2 separate regions of the Homo sapiens genome follow, and region 2 is linked to region 1. Evidence: promoter capture Hi-C in 16 types of primary human blood cells and fetal thymus (Javierre and others, 2016). All regions are on one chromosome and are shown on one strand. Each heading gives the region's core, a stretch centred on a gene start or on the middle of the fragment in contact. The rest is flanking DNA. Distances are from core to core; before and after follow the strand shown. Region 1 holds the start of KRABD5 (KRAB domain containing 5). Region 2 has its middle 44 kb from the start of KRABD5.

Region 1 (4,634 bases), core at 1,314-3,813:
TTTTTATGACACTGTGTGGAGTTTGCTGAACACCAGCCAATTCTCCAACACCAACTGGTTGTCCAACAACTCAATTCTGACAGCACCCAGAGGCAGCACAGACCCCACAAGTTCAGAGTTCAGTGCCACAACACTGCCCCTCTACAGATGCCAGTCACAATTCCCCAGGGGCCATCTATACTTCTGAGCTACTGCCTGTAAGTTAGGGCCTCCCATAATACCCTACTCAAGTTCATTAATTTTATACAAGGATTCACAGAACTCAGCAAAGACTGTAATTGCATTGACCAGTTTATTATAAAAGATACAACTCAGCCTAATGGAAGAGATGTGTAGGGCAAGAGAAAGGAGTGGGGAAAAGATGGAGTAGGTAGTTAACCCTGGGAAGCAGCTGTGATGAAAGAAATCCCCCTTCCTTTTTGTTCTTCAAGAGCAGCTTACTGCAAAGAATCTTCTTCCTGTTATGACTTAGATGATGCTCCCTGTTTTAGGTATCACAAAGCCACAAACTCTCCTATTTCCTTTTTTTCCCCCTCATAAGCAATTAAATAAAGAGTTTTATCTTCGATGGTCAAAACAAAATATGTGTTAACCAAAGTTGCTTAAATTTCTCCCCTTCTCCAAGGTGCCTGAGGTTTGTCCCACCCACAGCCTGAGTCAACATTCAACCCCTCTTTATGCCCCTCCTAAGAACAGGCTGACTTCAGGGTGAAACATTCTCTGATCAGGGATCTGATTTAGTCCAGGAGTCGTGCCCTTCCCCTCCCACCTTGAATCATGTTTGCTCCTCCCTATGAAAGAAAGGCCTTTTCTGCTTCAACTGTGAGATCCACAAATATCTTACAGTTGGTGCTTTCCTCCTCTTGCAATACTCCTTTACAATTAAGGCACTTCTTACCTATATCCAGATGTTTTATTTGACCAAGTCAAGAAACAGCCCCAGGACACTAACAATTCCACCCTCAGAAAGAGCTTCCCAATCTCCCTTCCAGCCCAACCTCGACCACATCCGCCTGTGAATCCCCTGCTTTCCAGAACTCTGCAGCTTCTCCCAGTAACAAAGGGCTCCCTCCATGGCTGCTGTGAACCTCAGGGACACCTGAAGGGGGCGCTCCCCAGGAAGAACTAACTGGGCCTTCAATGACCTCCTTTTGCAGGCTCAAATAAGACTGAGGTCTTCTATGCCTAGTCAGGGTTATTCCACACACCCGCTTCTCAATTCGCAGGCTCTCTCTTTCAGGTCCATCGAGGTGGGGTGCCTTCTTCCCATCTCATCAGCTCTCCACAAGCATCTAGCGAGCTCTAAAACCTACCCCAGGATAGCAAACGTCAGACCTTCCTCCACTCTCCTGGCACTGCACGCCTTCTGGGGAGTGCTGCCAATCCTACCTCAACTGAAGGGACAGGAGCAGGTGCCCAGCCAGTCAGATGTTCAGTGACCTAACAGGTTTCAGGAAAATAGCAAAATCACTCAAAACAGTTTTTATAGAAAGGAAGGAAACTGTAAGGCACTTACACTTTATACTTCAACAGGTAAGGCCAAAATACCTCTTTCGAGCAAGAAACATGTCATTTAATTATTTCCATAATAGCAGATCATTTAGTATATGTGAACACTTCTAGGAGGTGCCAAGTCCTGTCTCATAACATTTGGCATTAAAGTCGGACATCCAGATAGCAGTAGAATATGGAACACAGATATCCACTGTCACAAATCCTCCACTGCAAAAGAGAGGACCTGATATTTTAATGAATGTTTGTAATTGACCAATTAATCTAGCACACTTTCTGTGGAAATGTATTCGTTTTCTACAGCCAAAGTGGAAGAGAGATTGTCCCTATTTCTTTTCCCCAGCAGCATTCCTAAGCTGAGCCCTGGGATTTTGAAATCGCTGCTCCAGAGGACCCTAAACCACAAACCACGGCGGCAGGCTTCCCATTTCACCAATCGCTGTTTACCTAAATCAACCCTTTAACGCTTTAAGGGTGACTCCCCTTAATTTGTAAGAGGAAAAAGGAGACTGGGACACCACGGGGCACAGTATCTTCCCACACACGAATCACACGCCGACCCGGGATTTCCCCTAAGACCCTCACGTTCTCACCGCACAATCTCGGGAGACGCCGGGCTGCGGCGACCCAAAGACGGCTCCGGCCATGGCAGAGGTCGCTCTGCGGGGTCGGGAGGGGACCGGACGCGCGGGGTCCCGGCTGCCGGCCCGGCCGCCATCTTGCGGCGGAGGGGACCAAGGGCCGAGTTGCGTCCGCGGGGACTCAGGGCCCAGACCCCGAAGCTAACCTCAAAGAGGGTTCCCGCCGCTTCCGACCGCCCCTCTCCCTCTTCTGGGGACCCCCGACCTGGCACATTCACCATTTCCCAGCTTCCGGGATGTCCTGGCGTCTGAGCTACGGATCTCCCGGTGCCTGCCGGTCACAGAGTAACAGAGGTTCTGTCTATTCTCAGAACGCGAAGCCGCCTTGGCCTCCCAGATGGAAGGACTGGGAGCCCCTGGTGAAGAGACTGAGCTCTTACTGCAGCCAACAAAGGCCACCGCCAAATCCCGGAAGCCGCCCCTGCTCTCCGGCTACTCCCGATTGGAGGATTTCCACTCCGACGCCACTGATTGGGTAAAGCTCCAGGCCCCGCCCTCTCACTCGTTCTGCTTTTTGAATGGGAGACAGGCTCATTGAGGTGGGGCCACCTGCTGAGGGTATTACAGCTAATTTAAGGGGTGAGCTTGGACTTGAAATGCACTTGCTTTCCCGTACCTGGTTTTGCTTGTATAAGGCATCTTATTAGCTAATTAAGTTTAAGAAGGAGGGCATTTGGGCACCTTTAAAACAACTTTTTAACCGTTCTAATAACACAGGAAAGACCCTCATCCCATCCTTAGCACCTCTCATCACACGGTACCCCACTGCTCAGGACATAACTGTGGGACTGCAGAGGAAACTGCTGGGGTTTTTGGGGAGCATGCAGGAGGCTTCAACAGCCAAGGTAACGGTGGCTTCCCTTGGGTGTCACTTAAAATCTTGGGGTCAGGGACATCTTTTATCCAGTTGGCTCAGGGAAACTAACAGACAGGAGGATTGTAATTTTTTTTTTCTTTTCTGAATTTCCAAGACATAAAGGACTATCCAAGCATCCCAAAAGGCATTCAATTATACATAAGGCTGAGGGCCTCCCTGCTCTGGAGAGGGATGGCCTGGCAGCCACCAGCTGCAGTGAGCTGAGATAGTGCCACTGCAATGGGCCTTAAACTTGCCCTCTTGTAGACAGGCCACCTCCACACACCCGCTTCTCACATCGCAGGCTCTAACCCTCCGGTCCATCAAGGTGGGCTGCCTTCTTCCCATGTCATTAGCTCTCCACAAGCATCTAGTTAGCTCTAAAACCTACCACAGGATAGCAAACGTCAGACCCTCCTCCACTCTCCCGGCACTGCACGCCTTCTGGGGAGTGCTGCCAATCCCACCTCAACTGAAGGGACAAATCTGGGCAGGTGCCCAGTCAGATGTTCAGTGACCTAACAGGTCCAGCATGCCCAGGGCCTGACCCCACAGCCTAGCACCCCTCCCCCACCTGGCCTTCAATCCAGCCTTTCTTCTCCAATGACGGGATGTTCACCTGTGCCACAATCCCATTAGTCTAGTGACGAGGCCAGGTAAATCCCAGCTGAGTGCCTGTGACTCCACCCTCTTACTTCCCACTCAGGTGACATTACAAGCATAACCTTGAATTTGAGCTAATTTATACATATTCCTCTCCTAGTAACCTGTTTGACAACAGCCCTCACAATCCAGAGACTGGGGCAGCAGGTTCCAAAACCTCACTTTATTCCAATGTGAAATGAAGACATGATGGTTTAAAAATGAGAAAAAGTTCCTGATAAGCTGTGGGGGTGCTTCACTTGCCAGCTCATGCCCATTCCCTCTGAAACAAGGTGTCTGTTACCCATAAACAACTCTCTGTAAAGCCCCAGGTAGAGGTCACAGCTGGACGTGGCTCCCTCAGGCTCACAGGGTAGCAATCTCCTCCCCCAGTCCAGGCTTCCACAGCAGGCACGGACAGGTGCAGAGAGGGAGTGGCCATGGCCTGTGGGGTCCCCTGCCACCCTCAGAGCTAGTCTCTGCAGAAGGTGCTGTGTGGTAAGCAGCAGGGCTCCACAGAGAGGTGACAACCCTTCCTGTGTCTGCAACCTTTCCCCAGGATCCATGATTCAACCCTGGCTCCCTAGGCCCCTTACCCAGCACACCCTCCGTGTGTCAGGCAGCTCAGGTTAAAATGGGGAGAATGATATATTCCGACTGTAGACCCGAAGGTTCTGTCCATCTGGGGTACAGGGAGTAGGGACGCCAGTCAGAGCCTGTGGTAGCGCCTCCTGCTGGGCCTGAGGGCAGACAGGCCAGGGCTGGGCACAGGGACATCTGGGGGACCACCACTGACAAACCTGTCCCTCTCAGCCTGGAGCTACGGCCAGGCCAATCATGATTAATAAAACCACTGCAGCCTTCATCCTGCCACAAAACTAAAGTGGACCCCAACCCCCAGCCCTGCCACAAAGCTCTGCTCCCCATCTTTTTTGGCTTAAAACTTAGACATTAAGCCAGGTTGGGCCTGGGAGTTGTGGCAG
Region 2 (4,634 bases), core at 947-3,446, 44 kb after region 1:
TTATTTCAAACAAAACAGACTTTAAACCAACAACAATAAAAAGACAGGGACATTACATAATGATAAAGCATTAAGTTAAACAAGAAGACTTAACTATCCTAAATATACACACATCCAACACTGGAAAACCTAGATTCATAAAACAAGTTCTTATAGATGTATGAAGAGACTTAAATAACCACACAATAATTGTAAGACTTCAACACCCTGCAGACAATGTTAGAAAGATCATCAAGGCAGAAAACTAACAAAGATATTCAGGATCTAGACTTGAAACATGACCAAATGGACCTAATAGACCTCTATAGAACACTCCACCCAGCAACAACAACAGAATATACATTATTCTCATCAGCACATAGCACATACTCAAAGATTGATCACACCCTTACCCATAAAACAATTCTCAATGAGTTCAAAAAACCCCAAATCATACCAACCACAGTGCAATAAAATAGAAATCAATACCAAGAAGATCTCTCAAAACCATACAATTACATGAAAATTACCTGCTCCTGAATGACTTTTCAGTAAAAAATGAAATTAAAGCAGAAATCAAGAAATTATTTGAAACAAATGAAAACTGGGACACACGTAAAGTGCTGTTAAGAGGAAAGTTTATAACACTAAATCCTTACATCAAAAAGTCAGAAAGCTCTCAAATTCACAACCTAACATCACATCTGGAAGAACTAAAAAACAAGAGTAACCCAACCCCAGAGCTAGCAAAAGAAAAGAAATAACCAAAATCAGAGATAAACTGAATGAAATTGAGATGTGAAAATCCATACAAAAAATCAATGAAACAAAAAATTGGTTCATTAAAAGAATAAATAATATTGAGGGAGCACTAGCTAGACTAATAAACAAAAAGAAAAAATCCAAACAAACACAATTAGTATAACAATGGTAACATTGCCATTAACTTCACAAAAATATTTTTAAAAAACCCTCAGAGACTACTATGAATGCACACAAACCAGAAAACAGAAGAAATGGATAAATTCCTGGAAACATACAACCTCCTGAGATTGAACCAGGAAAATGTTGAATACCTGAACAGACCAATAATAACTTCCAAAAGGGAATCAGTAATAGAAAACCTACCAACCAGGAAAAGCCCTGGACCAGACAAATTCACAGCCAAATTCTACCAAGCATATAAAGAAGAGCTGGTACCAATCCTACTAAAACAATTCCAAAAATTTGAGGAGGAACGATTCATCCTTAACTCATTCTATGAGGCCAGCAACATCATGACACCAAAACCCGGTGGAGGCATAATCAAAAATTACAAAAAAACTTCAGGCCAATATCCCTGATGAACATAGATGTAAAATATTCATAAAATACTAGTAAATGAAATCCAGCAGCAGATCAAAAAGTAAATTATCCATGATCGGGCAAGTTTCATTCCTCAGATGCAAGGTTGATTCAACATATGCATATCAACAAATATGATTCTTCACATAAACCGAACTAAAAACAAAACCACATGATCATCTCAATAGATACAGAAAAGCCTTTTAATATCTCCTCATGTTAAATACCATCAACAAACTAGGCATTGAAGGAACATATTTCAAAATAATGAGTCATCTATGACAAACCCACGGCCAACATCATACTGAAGGGGCAAAAGCTTGACCAACTCCCCTTGAGAACCAGAGCCAGGCTGCCCATTCACCACTGTTATTTAAAAGTACTTGAAGTCCCAGCCAGAGCAATTAGGCATGAGAAGGAAATAAAAGGCATCCAAATGGGAAGAGAAAGTCAAAGTATCTCTTTCTGCTGATGATATGATTCTATACCTAGAAAACCTCATATTCTCTGCCCAAATGCTCATAGAATTGATAAACAACTTCAGTAAAATTTCAGGATACAAAATCAATGTACAAAAATTACTAGAATTTCTATACACTAATAACGTCCAAGCAGAGAGCCCAATCAAGAATGCAATGCCATTCACAATAGCCACAAAAAAGAAAAATTACCTAGGAATACAGTGAAACAGGGAGGTGAAATATCTCTGCAACATGAATAACAAAACTGCTGGAAAAAAATCAGAGATGGCACAAACAAATGGAAAAACATTCCACGCTCACGGATAGGAAGAATCAATATTGTCAAAATGGCCATGCTGCCCAAAGGAATTTACAGATTCAATGCTATTCCTGTCAAACTACTGCTGTCAGTTTTTACAGAATTGGAAAAAAGCATTCTAAAATTCATATGGAACAAAAAAAAAGCCCAAATACCCAAAGCAATCCTAAGTAAAAAGAACAGAGAGGCATCACATTATCTGACTTCAATCTATACTACAAGGCTACAGTACCCAAAACAGCACGGTACTGGTATAAAAACAAACACATAGATCAATAACACAGGTTAGAGAACCCAAAAATAAAACCACACACCTACAACCATCTGATATTCAACAGAGTTGACAATTAGAAGCAATGGGGAAAAAAGTACTTATTCAATAAGTGGTGCTGGGATAATTGGCTAGCTATAGGCATGAGATTGAAATGGAACCCCTTCATTTCACCATATACAAAAATCAACTCAGGGTGGATTAAAGACTTAAACATAAAACCAAAAGCTATAAAAACCCTAAAAGAAAGCCTAGGAAATACCATTCTGGACATAGGCTTTTCATGACAGAGACCCCAAAAACAATTGCAACAAAAACAAAAATTGACAAGCGGGACCTAATTGACAAGTGGGACCTAATTAAACTAACAAGCTTCTGCACCGCACAAGAAACAGCATTAATGCACAATCTATGGAATGGGGAAAAATATTTGCAAACTCGGTGTTGAGGTGATCAAACCCAACACCAGGTCATGGGGGCTATGAAGTCCGGTGGAGTCAAAGGAATGAGACAAAACAAATTAAGAGTACATAGGGTGGGTCCAGGGGGCCAATGCTAGCATATGGAGGCAGTGAAGGCCCCGAGCTCTGGGACTATTTATTGGTAATCAAACAAAGAAGCAGGTGGTGAGGATGTGCAGATGTAGACAGGTGAGGACGTGAGGACGTGGGGGTAGAAAGGTAACAGTGCATCAAGCGTAACTGTGATGCTTTAGCATATGCTCTGCTACTTGAAATAAGGGAGAACAGGTTCTTTTGATGCAAGATATAATCAATTTATGATCTTGGGAGATCAAGGAGCAAGGGGTCAGCGAGTCTGGACACATTCCAGAGGCTACAAGGGGTTTTACGCCCTGAGCCCTGGGTTCTCTCCAAGCCACAAGGGGTGTTATGCCCTGGGCTTAGATTGTAGTGTGGCAGGGCAGCCTTCCACCCTTTGGCACAGAGCTTGGTGTTCCATAGGCCACAAGGGGTTTTAGACCCTGGACCCAGGACATGTTCCAAGACTCGTTTACATTATGTCAGACAAGCGAGCCCTGCCTCAGATCTTCTGCCAACATGTCTCTCTTTTTTGTTCTGCAAAACTGCCACAGCTATCATTGCTTGTTCTCGGCTTGTTCTTGGCCCCCTGGACTCACCCTATGTACTCTTAATGTGTCTTGTCTAATTCCTTTGACTCCGCCGGACTTCATAGCCCCCATGACCTGGTGTTGGGTTTGATCACTCGGTGGCTTTCTCTCCAGAGGTGGCTTCTGCATCTGTAGACTGAAACGAGACAGCACAAGCACATAATTATTAGAACAAGGTTTACAGGTGTAGCGTTTCCAATGGTCTTAATCCATTTAAGAGGATTGATTGCAGACAACCCATCAGCTGCCTTGCTTAAAATATCAGTTCCAGAGAGCAGGGTTAAGTGAGCCTGAGAGGCTTCAAAAACCTGCTCTTTCAGTTTTACAATATCAAGGGAGAGATTTTCCTCTCTACCCTCTAGATGGCATTTATTTCTTTCCCATTGGCGTTGTGTTTCATTGTAACTATGAGGAATAATGCAAAAGTCAGATGTATTCCAATCACATTGCATTTGAATTCTAGTTTCTAAACTTATGATGCGATCCCCCATTCAAGTTACTGTCTGACAGAGATCATTAATTTGATTAACTATCTTTTGATCTGTTTGGACCTGAGAGTTCCATAATTTCATATAATTATTTTGCCATTTATCAACAAATTAAACAGTTTGCGCAGATGAGTGTAAAGCCGCACCAGCTACTGCAGCAGTAGTGGTAACTGCAATGAGGCCAATTACAGCAAATATAAGAGCAATTATAAATCTTTTTGAATGAGATAAGAGTTTTTTAAGGATCTCAGTTATAATATGAATGGATGGTGATGCCTCCCATGGTCTATTTAGAGACACAGGGATCCAAACTTCTGTGGCTCTAATTAACAAGATAGTTTGATTTTTATCAAAGGTTGAGTTAATGCAAGTAAACAAGTGACATTCGTGGCAGGTGATAAAACAGGTATTCATGTCAAGAGTAATATTTCCTATTGCTAACATAAAAGGTGGCAGGACACAACTTTGAATCCAAAAGGTCCTGTTAGAAAGAAAAGAGAGGACATATTTATCTTTACCTCCTTCCCCTTTATACTTATTATATTTACCTTCTCAAATTTTGATTGAACTTTGAGCCATAGCTAATTTTCATAATTCTGAATGCTCCTGTCCTATGGCAGGAGATATCATTTTTGGACTAGGA

What was found. Contacts are between HindIII fragments. The CHiCAGO score rates a contact against its expected background, and 5 or more counts as called.
Region 2: a contact is called between a fragment that was not itself captured here and the fragment with the promoter of KRABD5 in region 1, in 1 of 17 cell types (neutrophils). The highest score is 5.2, in neutrophils.

What each region holds. Positions count from the first base shown.
Region 1 is chr16:31,711,173-31,715,806 of GRCh38, reverse strand. KRABD5 (KRAB domain containing 5) reads right to left here and starts at 2,563. Exons shown (of 5, transcript NM_001130913.2): 1 at 2,372-2,563. The coding sequence starts at 2,374. RefSeq lists enhancers at 1,103-1,152, 2,277-2,396 and a silencer at 2,127-2,186. The HindIII fragment of the contact is 15,701 bases long and covers 1-4,634 here.
Region 2 is chr16:31,666,576-31,671,209 of GRCh38, reverse strand. No RefSeq gene overlaps it. Among named protein-coding and RNA genes, the nearest start is that of KRABD5, 44 kb to the left of the region's middle. The HindIII fragment of the contact is 1,104 bases long and covers 1,645-2,748 here.